2 separate regions of the Homo sapiens genome follow, and region 2 is linked to region 1. The links are contacts of gene promoters, found by promoter capture Hi-C in blood cells and fetal thymus (Javierre and others, 2016). All regions are on one chromosome and are shown on one strand. The core of a region is centred on a gene start or on the middle of the fragment in contact, and the rest is flanking DNA. Distances in the headings are between cores, read along the strand shown.

The links. The method cuts DNA at HindIII sites, captures the fragments that hold promoters and counts their contacts. A CHiCAGO score of 5 or more calls a contact.
Region 2: a contact is called between a fragment that was not itself captured here and the fragment with the promoter of PACS2 in region 1, in 1 of 17 cell types (endothelial precursors). The highest score is 5.2, in endothelial precursors.

Annotation. Positions count from the first base shown.
Region 1 is chr14:105,312,252-105,317,171 of GRCh38, reverse strand. It overlaps PACS2 (phosphofurin acidic cluster sorting protein 2), which reads right to left and starts at 2,424. Exons shown (of 25, transcript NM_001100913.3): 1 at 2,135-2,424. The coding sequence starts at 2,253. It also overlaps a transcript of BRF1 not described here. RefSeq lists silencers at 1,803-1,882, 2,113-2,202, 2,343-2,872, 2,973-3,062, 4,903-4,920 and an enhancer at 1,407-2,058. The HindIII fragment of the contact is 4,816 bases long and covers 38-4,853 here.
Region 2 is chr14:105,354,531-105,359,450 of GRCh38, reverse strand. PACS2 (phosphofurin acidic cluster sorting protein 2) reads right to left here. Exons shown (of 25, transcript NM_001100913.3): 4 at 4,274-4,399. Among named protein-coding and RNA genes, the nearest start is that of TEX22, 42 kb to the left of the region's middle. The HindIII fragment of the contact is 1,978 bases long and covers 1,089-3,066 here.

The DNA.
Region 1 (4,920 bases), core at 1,175-3,674:
CGCCGAAAGGCATCAGCACACACGCAGCCCAGAAGCTTCATGGCTGGGCAAAAGTGAGGAGTACAGAAGAACTCAGGAGGAACAAAGCAAAACTAAGTAGCAGACTGTCCGAGGATGCACGGACAGGCGGCACAAGCACAAAGCAAAGCTAGGGGCAAGCCCGCCTATGAGGGGCCCTGTTCCAGGACAGGTAAGGGCAGGAGCTCATTATGAGGCTGAGCATGTCCTACGAACAAACTGCATCTGCCCACCTGGTCAGCTGCGCCACTCGCCCCTCCGCCCATTAACTCCTCCGCCCATTAACTCCACACCAACAGAACAAATCCTGTCCTCCTGCCTACCCTTCCTCCCAACCCTGTCCAGGCCAGAGCTCGGGACCCCCCCCAGCACTTAGTGCTACCCAGCCCAGGTGCCCCCATCTACCCCCGCCTGTCCTAACCAGGCTTCTCGAAACCCGCCCTACCCATACCCTCCCCACAGACACCAGAGTGGGCTTTCTAGACCCCTGGAGAATAGAGCACAGCTCCACAGGGGGGCTGATAAGGCCCCCGGCCCCTCCTGCCACACGCCCCCACCTCCCTTGGGTTAAAGACTTTGCTGCTCATTCGGAGGGCCCCAGGAAGCTGCTGCAGAGGTTCAGCAAGGGCAGGCTATGTGCTGCAGTGCTGGAGCAGGGGAGCGCCAACAGCCCGCATGAAGGTTCTGGGGCTGTGGGTGAGGCAGTGACTCAGAGGGGCAGACAGGAGAAGGGCTGTGGGGCTGTGGGACCTGACATTGGGGCAATCGCCAAGACCTGGAATGGAGAAGCAGCCAGGCCTGGGGAGATGCTCCTGGCTTTGGCTTTGAGGCCCCAGAGACTTCCCAGAAGAGAGGCAAGCAGGCACATCTGCAGTGCTCGGCCCCAGACCTTGGGCAAATGCTGACCCTTAGGTCTCATATGGACACTGGGTCCTTCGGGAGGCCCCGCCAGGTGCAAGAGTCGTGCCGGGTGGGCATCCTTCCTGTCCACTCAGCAAAACCAAAGCCCCGAGGTCCCAACCCTGCGCTCCAGGAGGGCAAGCCCCACTGTCCAGCGGCTCTGCAACTCCAACACCACGCTCAGAGATGCAGGCTGTGGGAGCCACAGGAAAGCACGGAGAGGCCCACCTGCAGCTGACTAGGGGTGGAACAACTCAATGCCACGTGGGGTCCCCTCCAGGCATACTGGCCACTTCCAGTGCCTGGAAGGTCCGCTCACCCTCCCATCTCCCCAGGGAGAACTCTCACTACCCCCAACCGCCTCCTCTTCTCGCCTGCTGTCTATTCTAGAACCAGAACTTTTCCGGAGAGCGTGTCTCTCTCCTCCTTAGCCTGGGAGCTTCCTGAGCAGGAACTACCAAGTCACGAAGAAATTACAAAAGTTTCAAACTGAGCAGGAGACTCAGGGAAGCTGCAAGTCCAAGGAAGGCTGGGCTATGGCCGGAGGGTAAACCCTGTCCAATCGTTACCGCTGGGCGACCGGGCGCCCCCCTACCAAGTGCAGAACAGCCAGTCTTCCGCAATGGCAAGATCAACTGGGAGGCGCAAATAGCAGTACTGGCTTGGCGACGCCTCTAAATGAGAGACAGCGCCAACCAGGTACCCGCGAGGACGACCCCGCCCCGCAGGACAGGGCATCTCCACCGCGCGCTGGACGGAGGATACAACCGAGTCCTGCGCGCCCCGTGCGCCGGGGGTCGCTCCCAGGCCGAGGTCTGACAGTGTCGCCGAACGCGAAAGGAAGCGTGTGGTACCCGAGAGAGGAAGCACCCTCGTCACCCCGGCCGGCACCGCATTGAGGCAGGTGTGCAGGTGCGGTTGCGGCGAGCCAGGTGAGCGCCGCCCGGGAGCCCCAAGGTCCCGCCGGGTCTGAGCAGCACCGGGTCCTCGGAAGCTGAGCGCGGCCCCCGGTGCTCGGGACCTGGGGGGCTGGGGCCGCGCTTGCCGGAGCTGCGGGGGGGCGGCGGCTGCACGCGTCGAACCGGCGGGCGGGGGCGCGGGGGGCGACCTGGGCTCCGCTGGGGGACCCGGGCCGGGGATGGGGCGCGCAGAGGCCGCGGCCAGGACACCCCCAGCAGGTGCCCGGCGGGAACAAAGCGCGGCGGGCGGCGCGTACCTGGGCACGCAGCTGGGGCTGGAGCCGTCCACCTCCCAGGTGGCGAACAGGTTCATGGGCACGGGCGTGTTGAGCGCGCCGGGCGCGCCGGGGAGGCCGAGGCGGCCTCGCTCGGCCATGGCGCCGGCCCCGCCGCTCCCTCGGCGGCCTGGGGCTGCGGCCGGGCCGCGGACGCGCGGCGGGCGGGCCGGGCGCGCGGAGGGCGGCGGCGCGGTCACATGGCTGCCGGGCGGCGGAGGGGACGGGCCGGGCCCCGGCGTCGGACAGGCCCGCGGGCGGCGACGAGCTGCGGCCGCTCCGCCCCGCCCCGCCCGGCGCCCCGCCCGCGCCCCGCGCGCCCCCGGCCGCCCCGCGCGCGCCCGGCGCCCTCCGACCCGCGCCGGCGCCGCCGATTGGCTGGGCGGGGCGCCAGCTCGCCGCCTCGGGTCCAATCGCCGCCGGCGCAGCGCGCGCCGGAAGTGAGGTGCGCGCGCGCTTCCTCCGGCGGCGCCTCACGGGGCGTCCCCGCCCGCCGGTGCGCGAGAGCGCGCACTCACGCGCCTGCGCACAGACCCCGCCCGGGGCGCCCCGCCCCGCCCCCCGGGAGCCGCGGGCAAGGGCCGGGAGAGTCGTGGGGGTCCACCGGGTCCCGGCCAGCTTCAGGCGCCGCCCCCTAAGGAAAGCTCATCGTCGCCCTGGCGATGCCCACCTCCCCACGCGCGGATTCCCCGGCCTCGACACTTTCCCGCCTCCACCCCGCCATGCCCCGAGTCTCCCCGCCCCCCTGCCCTCGCCGCCCCTTGTCTCCTGCCGACCCCCGCTGGGTTGGCCCGGCTGTGCGGGCCCCGCCCGTCCCCGAGCCCCTCCCTCGCGCCCCCCTGCGTGGGTTCCCCGGGACGCAGGGAGGTGGCAAGGAGGTGGCCGGGCCTGGCGGCGGTCGCGGGGACTCGAAGCCACTCGGGGCGCCAGGCTGCCGAGCTTAGCCTCCAGGGCTCCAGATGACCCCGGGCGCCCTCTTTGCGTCCCAGCATCCTTATTCAGCGCCGCTTTTCAGCGTTGTGCTCAGGACAATGGAGAACAAATGTCTGGGGCCAAGGCTGGCTCCTGGCCCTGGGGTTAACAGTGAACTTGGGGACCCAAGCAAAGAGGAGGCAATGGCTAGAGCCGCTGGGGCCCGACGTGTAGGCTCTGGGGCTCAGGGAGGGTGCTTCCCCCATCTGTTTGGCAGCGGCTGTGGTCCAGCACCAGATGCCAAGCCGAGATTTAGGAAACGGTTTTCTGGCCTCTCTTCTGTTTCCTTGTTTCACAGTTAGTTTACAGTTGCTTTTCTCTTCGCCCTGTGTCTTGTCTACAAGTAGTTTTACTGAAACAAATCCAGCCCGAGCAAATTGACCTGGAGCTGGTTTCTTTCCTGGCCCACGGGGCTTGCCACCCCAGTGCCCCGTCAGCTCCTTCTGCAAAGGCCCTCATGCCGCTGCTTCCTCCGTTGAGAGAGCTCAGCCTCCAGCTGTAACTCCTGTATCTAGAACTGCAAACAGCTGCGACTGCTTAAAGTCAGGGTCCCACTTCGGAGAGAACAAGGGACTCTGTGTTTCCCACGCGCCCCTGGCTCCTCTAAGGTGGTACACTGAGAGCCATGAGGGTCTGTCTGACCTTGGCCAGCTGCTCGGCGGGCAGAGGGCCGGTGGATCTCATACCTTTGAGACAGGGTAGGGGGAGAAGTGACTATGTCCAGAGAGGGGGTAGCCATACCCCAGGAGGACAGGCTGTCTGTGATGGGAGGGCAGGAGACAGGCACCCATTGACCCCAGAACTGAGCGTACGGCGCTGCTGGACCTGGCGAGCGTGCAGTTGCAGTCAGACGGATGGGCCGCCTGACACATGGTGCCTGTGTATGCCAGCGTCTAACCCAGGCAGGGACTACAACTGGGGGTCAAGTGAGGAGATGCGGGGTGACTAAGCCGTGCACAGCAGGGCTTGGCACCAGCTGCCACCATTGAGCGGTGCCCCTCCTCTGTGCCAGGCACCGTTGTGAGCCCTTAAGGGACGTGACAGTTCTGTCCCATCCCAAGTGACAAAAGAGGAGATGGCGGCCTGTGAGGTTATGCAGCTGCCAGGGGTCGGGATATGACCCACACAGTCTGTACCAGAGTGGCCCGAAGAACCCGTATGGTGGGTCTACATCAATGCTTCTGCCAGGCAGGAAAGCAGGGACACGAAACACACCATGTGTCACGCCTGCGACCACGTTTATGTTTGTTTTTAAGGTGGGATGGTGGTGATGGGACTGTGGTCTTCTGTATTTTCCAAGTGCACAGATGTCCCTTGGGTGATCAGAGTAACTTTTTAGCCAGAACTTGTTATTTGCACTGCCCTCCTCTGTCGGAAAATGATGCTGTGCTGGTCCTTCTCTTGAGGGCTGTGGGTCACAGGAGGAGATCCCCTGAAGGCTGGGAGGCATCCCTCCCCATGCTATGACCCTGGCATGGTGTGAGCCCTCACCCCCGTGTTTGGAGCACAGGTGCTTTCTCTGGTAGCGTTTTCTTTAAAGCAGGAACTTGGTTTGAGACAAACCTCTCGGATGACTGGGGTGGCTGGGCACGGTTGGGGAGGAGGTCCAAGAAGAGGATCCTTCAGAGCCCTGGGGTCTCAGGAGGACAACCTGAAAGCTGGTCCTACCACGTGCTGCCCGGGGTCCCCGGAGGTTGTGGGAGTTATTATTATTTAAGAAGTTAAAGCTTCAAGGTTCTGAATGCTTGGCTAGGATTCCATTGGTATTAAAAAGACGAAGCCCCAACCCCCAGTCA
Region 2 (4,920 bases), core at 828-3,327, 43 kb before region 1:
CTGTAATCCCAACCACTCGGGAGGCGGAGGAAGGAGAATCACTTGAACCCGGGAGGTGGAGGTTGCAGTGAACTGAGATCGCGCCACTGCACTATAAAAGTGAAACCACATCACGAAAAAAATTTAAAAATAAAAAGCAAAAAAAAAAAAGCACAGTAAAAATAAAGTATAAAAGACATTAAGTGGTGCCTGTGAATAGGGCACTGACGATGGCAGAGCCTGCGGGGCTGGAGGTGGCTCTGGACAAGCTGGTGGGTGAGTGAGTAATGCGAAGGCCTGGGAGGTCACCACGCACCGCCGCGTAGGGGTGGACGTGTGTGTGGATGCGAAGGCCTGGGAGGTCGCCATGCACCGCCGTGTAGGGATGGACGTGTGTGTGACCAGGCCCTGGACACCTGGGCCACACTGAGTTCACACAGGAATAAAGTAACTGTGCTATGGTGTTACGATGGCTACCATGTCATCAGGAGATAGGAAGTGTCCAGTGCCATCATATTCTCACGGGGCCACCCATTGATATGCAGCCCACACCTGACTGGGCTGTCATCAGCAGCCTGTGGCTGTGCAGACACTCATAGAGAGAAACTAAAGGGAATCCAGCATGCAAACGGTCAGGGTGACGCTCCCGCGCTGTCCTTACCCTGAGGTCTTCCTGTGTCCCACCATGAGCCGCCCGCCCCTCACAGGTCCCCTTGGGCTGGACCTGGCCCCAGTGGCATGTGCAGCTTGTGGCGAGGCCACAAGAGGAGTCCGGCTGTGCAAAGAAGCATGGCTGCTCCCTCAGCCACCACCGCACTCCCAGGTCACCCCTTCGCCTGGTCATGGGTCTGTCAACCTTCCTGTCTTGTCGGGGAGCCCACAGGCCCCAGCCTCAGACAATGGCCACCAGCTGGCATGCCTGCGTCTCCCAGGCTGCAGCCCCAGGGTGGTCTGGCCACACGAACGCCCACCCCTACACACTCCCTCTACGGGTGCTGGGGTGAGTTCTGAGAGCCACACCACAGGAGAAGGCCCCACGTCTGCCCCCACCGCACACCTGCCTCTGCGGAGCTGCCTCTGAGAGGGACCACCTGCAGTCAGCTCAAGCTTCCTGAGAAGTGGCAGGCAGAGGCGCGTGCCCAGCAGGCCCTGGGGCTGCGGTCACTCCTGATGGTCCCAGCCAGAACTGCTGGTCAGCCTGCAGACCTAAGCCACCCCACGCCGGCGTCCAGCTCCTGGCACCCATGAGGCCCGGCCCCTACCCTGGGCCACCTTGGACTCCACTTCCTCAGCCTCAGAGTAAGTCCAGGGCTCTGGGCCTCAGCTCACACAGAATGAGTGCCAGGTGAGGGCAGAGCTATGGTGTGGCAGGGGCCCAGGCTGCTCCCAGCCCCTCCTGCCCCCTGCGTGTGCACCCATTTGAAGGGAGATGACACCTGTGTCCCCACAGCCATCGCCTCCTGGTCTCCCCACAGCCTGGAGGTCCTGGGCAGGTGCCCCCCACATCCTCTCCCACCACACTCTCAGCCCTGGCCTCGAGTCCGCCCAACAGCCCGCCTCACCCCACCCTGTGCCCTCAAGGACCCTTCCCCACCGCCGAGCACTACTCTCAAATGCATGGCGCCAGCCTCACCGACACCCCACTCTCACGACAGTCCCTATGGCAGCACCCATGCCCTCACCCCCGTCTCAGGCGTGCAGTCTCGGAGCCAGCAAGCCCCCATGGCACAGCTGCCTGAGCCCAGCTGGTGAGAGCCCCCCACCTCTGCCACCTGTGTCCGTCTGTGCCCTCGGGGCTGTCCCGCCTCCGCAATCTCCCGTGCTCATACTCTCAACAAGCCAGCAACGCTCACAGGTGGGAACCAGCCCCAAAAGGTGGCAGGACACAGGGAGCCCATGAACCGCCCTGGTGCTCGGGGACACATGGGAGGACCCAACTAGGTTCTGGGACCAGGCTGCCAGTGGAAGGTGGAAGGATGCCCCGAGGGCCTGGAGGAGATGCTGGAGGGGAGAGCGAGGAGCAGTCAGATGACCTCGGCTTTGGAAGCCACAGGTGCAGGGCGAGGGAGCCTTGGGGTGGGGGCCACAGGCTCAGGGGCAGGGCACTGGAACTACATCCAGGGGTGGGGCTTTTCTGCCAAGAGTGAAGAACAGATGATGGGATTTCAAGCAGCAGACGATGTGGCTGGTGTGACCTGGGGTGGGGGAAGGTTGCTCCAGCCTCTCCCCGGGGATCAGGAGGGGACAGCCCAAGGCTGGGAGGACAGGTGAGGGAGGGGCCTGGGAGCAGAGGCCAGCATTCAGGGCAAGGACGTCAAACACAGAAGCACCAGTGCTGAGAGGGGCTGGGAGGAGCCGCCTGGGGCACTGGGGTGCAGACTGAGAGATGTGGGCGGAGCAGCCTGGGGCAGGAGCTCACAGGGACCGGCAGGGATCAGCAGGACATCACCTGCATGGCTACACAGGGACCAGCAGGGATCAGCAGGACATCGCCTGCATGGCTAATGGGAAACACAGGGACCGGCAGGGATCAGCAGGACATCGCCTGCATGGCTAATGGGAAACACAGGGACCAGCAGGGATCAGCAGGACATCGCCTGAATGGCTAATGGGAAACACAGGGACCGGCAGGGATCAGCAGGACATCGCCTGCATGGCTAATGGGAAACACAGGGACCGGCAGGGATCAGCAGGACCTCGCCTGCATGGCTAATGGGAAACACAGGGACCGGCAGGGATCAGCAGGACCTCGCCTGCATGGCTAATGGGAAACACAGGGACCGGCAGGGATCAGCAGGACCTCGCCTGCATGGCTAATGGGAAACAGAGCCTGCATGACCTCCCCACAGTGCCTGGACCCTCCTGCTCCACAGGAAGCAAGCGGTGGCTCCCAGGAGGCTCTCACAGCCCAGAGAGCATCCCTGAGCTACCTGTTCACCCATCGCTCAGCCTGCAGGAGGGAGGCTGGGATGATGGGCAGCTCCAGGCCACCAGAGGGGTCCCAGGGCCCTGGGAAGTGCAGCCTGGAGGCCCGGTCCACCCGTGCTGTCCGTGGTTTGCCGAAGGAATCGGGAAGACTGCAAAGCTTGTCTGAGGCCCTGCGGCGGCACGGAGAAGCGAGGCCTCGGGACGCCACTGCTGCTTCCTGTACCCTCCACGCTCCCATCTCCTGGGGTAGCAGGGAGGGCTGAGCCCAGAGTAGTACTTGGCACTTGTCCTGGATGCGTAAGTGGGGGTGTGTGAGGATCTGGGGGACCTAGCGCTTGACCTGGGAGACAGGAGGCCTGCAGGCTGGGCCTGGGGGTGTGGGGGAACCAGCTACAAGTGGGCACCCCCACTGTCCCAGCCCCAAGCCCCAGGAGCAGGGGGACAAAGTGGGAAGAAGAGGGGCTGGGGGGCTCTGGCATCTCCGGCTCCCAATGAGGGGCTGCGCTGGCTGACCTTCCCAGGCCCCAGGCAGGCAGCAACCCAGCTTCACATGCCCCAAGCACCACTCACGCCCGCAGCCCCTGGACCCCTGAACACAACCCCACGATGGGGAAAGTTCTGAAGCAAAAGAGACAAACTGGTCTGGGGCCCTGGGCTGCCCCTTCTCCCAGAGCCAATCTTGCAGCCCCGAAAGGGTCCATGAGAAAGTCCGAGGCCTCAGCCTGGGGTGTCTTCTCCCAGGCCCCCACGCCCTACTGCAGCCTCCTTGGAACGCTGGGTTCTCTGGAGCAAGGTGGGCTGCTGCTTGGCTGTTTCTTTTCCTTTTGAGGTACTTCCCCTTCTTTCCCCTCCAGGGAACTCCAGCCACCCCTCTGACCTCTGGGTGCTGCCCCCGCCCTGCTCGGGTATTGTCGCTAGCCCCTTCACAGAACTGACACCTGTCCTGCTCCTGCTCAGCCAATCCTGGGCCAGAGCACGTGCTGAGCAGGATGCAGACACGAACCCATCACAGGACGCACCCGTGGTGTGGGGACAGCAGCGATTCCTCCATGGGAAGGACTCCAGAGCAGCCTGACCCAAAACCCAGCCTCCACTGAAGGGCAGGACAGGCTCGTTAGAGGGGAGTGCGCGCGGCTGCAGGCATGCGGGGAGCCATGCTAGGCGGCAAGGGAAGGTCAGAGAGGAAGCACCACCTGGGGCCGCACCTGGCCCTTATGGCGGAGCCCGGCCGCCCAGGCTCCTCTCATCATTTTCACCTGATCCCTGGACATCTGGACCCGGGAGAGACATCTCCATCTCCCACGGGCGAATGCTCTGGCACCCAGGTGGCCAGCCCGACGCAGGCCACGCCAGACGGAGCACTCACCTCAGCCATGCTGATGGAGCCCGCGGCCAGCGTCTTGTAGCCCAGGATGGTTCTGTTCTTGTAGCGCTTTCTGCGCTGCAGCATGATCTGAAGCTTGTTGCCTTCCCTCTTCAAGAAGTGAGGATACTGTGGGCACAAGTGCGAGTGGCAGCTGAGGGTGCACCGGGGCCCCAGGCAGCATCACGGCCTCTGACGGCCCAGCCACCCTGCAGCCTGCGACCAGGCCAACCTGCTGCCCATGAGATCGGAAGGGCACCCACAGACGGGCCCCCAAGTTCATCCCAGTGGCATGCCGGTCCCCAGAGCCCATCCTTTACCCAACACAATCAAGAGTGAGCCAGTCGCCAGAGCTCAGGCCCTGAGGGCTCCGCGCCACGCTAACAGCCATGGCAGGTGGACAAGGACTATGTGCTGCAGTGTCCGGGATGGCCGAGCGCGCCTGTGGACACTCGGAAACAGTGTGGCGGCTCATGTGCCTGAGGCAATCAGCAAGGTGGGACCCAGGACGCTTTTCCGCGAGGGGCACACAGGGCGGGGAGGGCTCTCCCTCCGAGGCCCCCTGTTCACCCAACTCGCCTGCACGTCTCACCACAGGCTCCCTGTCCAGCAGGGCTCCAGCAAGCTGATGTTCACAGGTATCTCTTAGA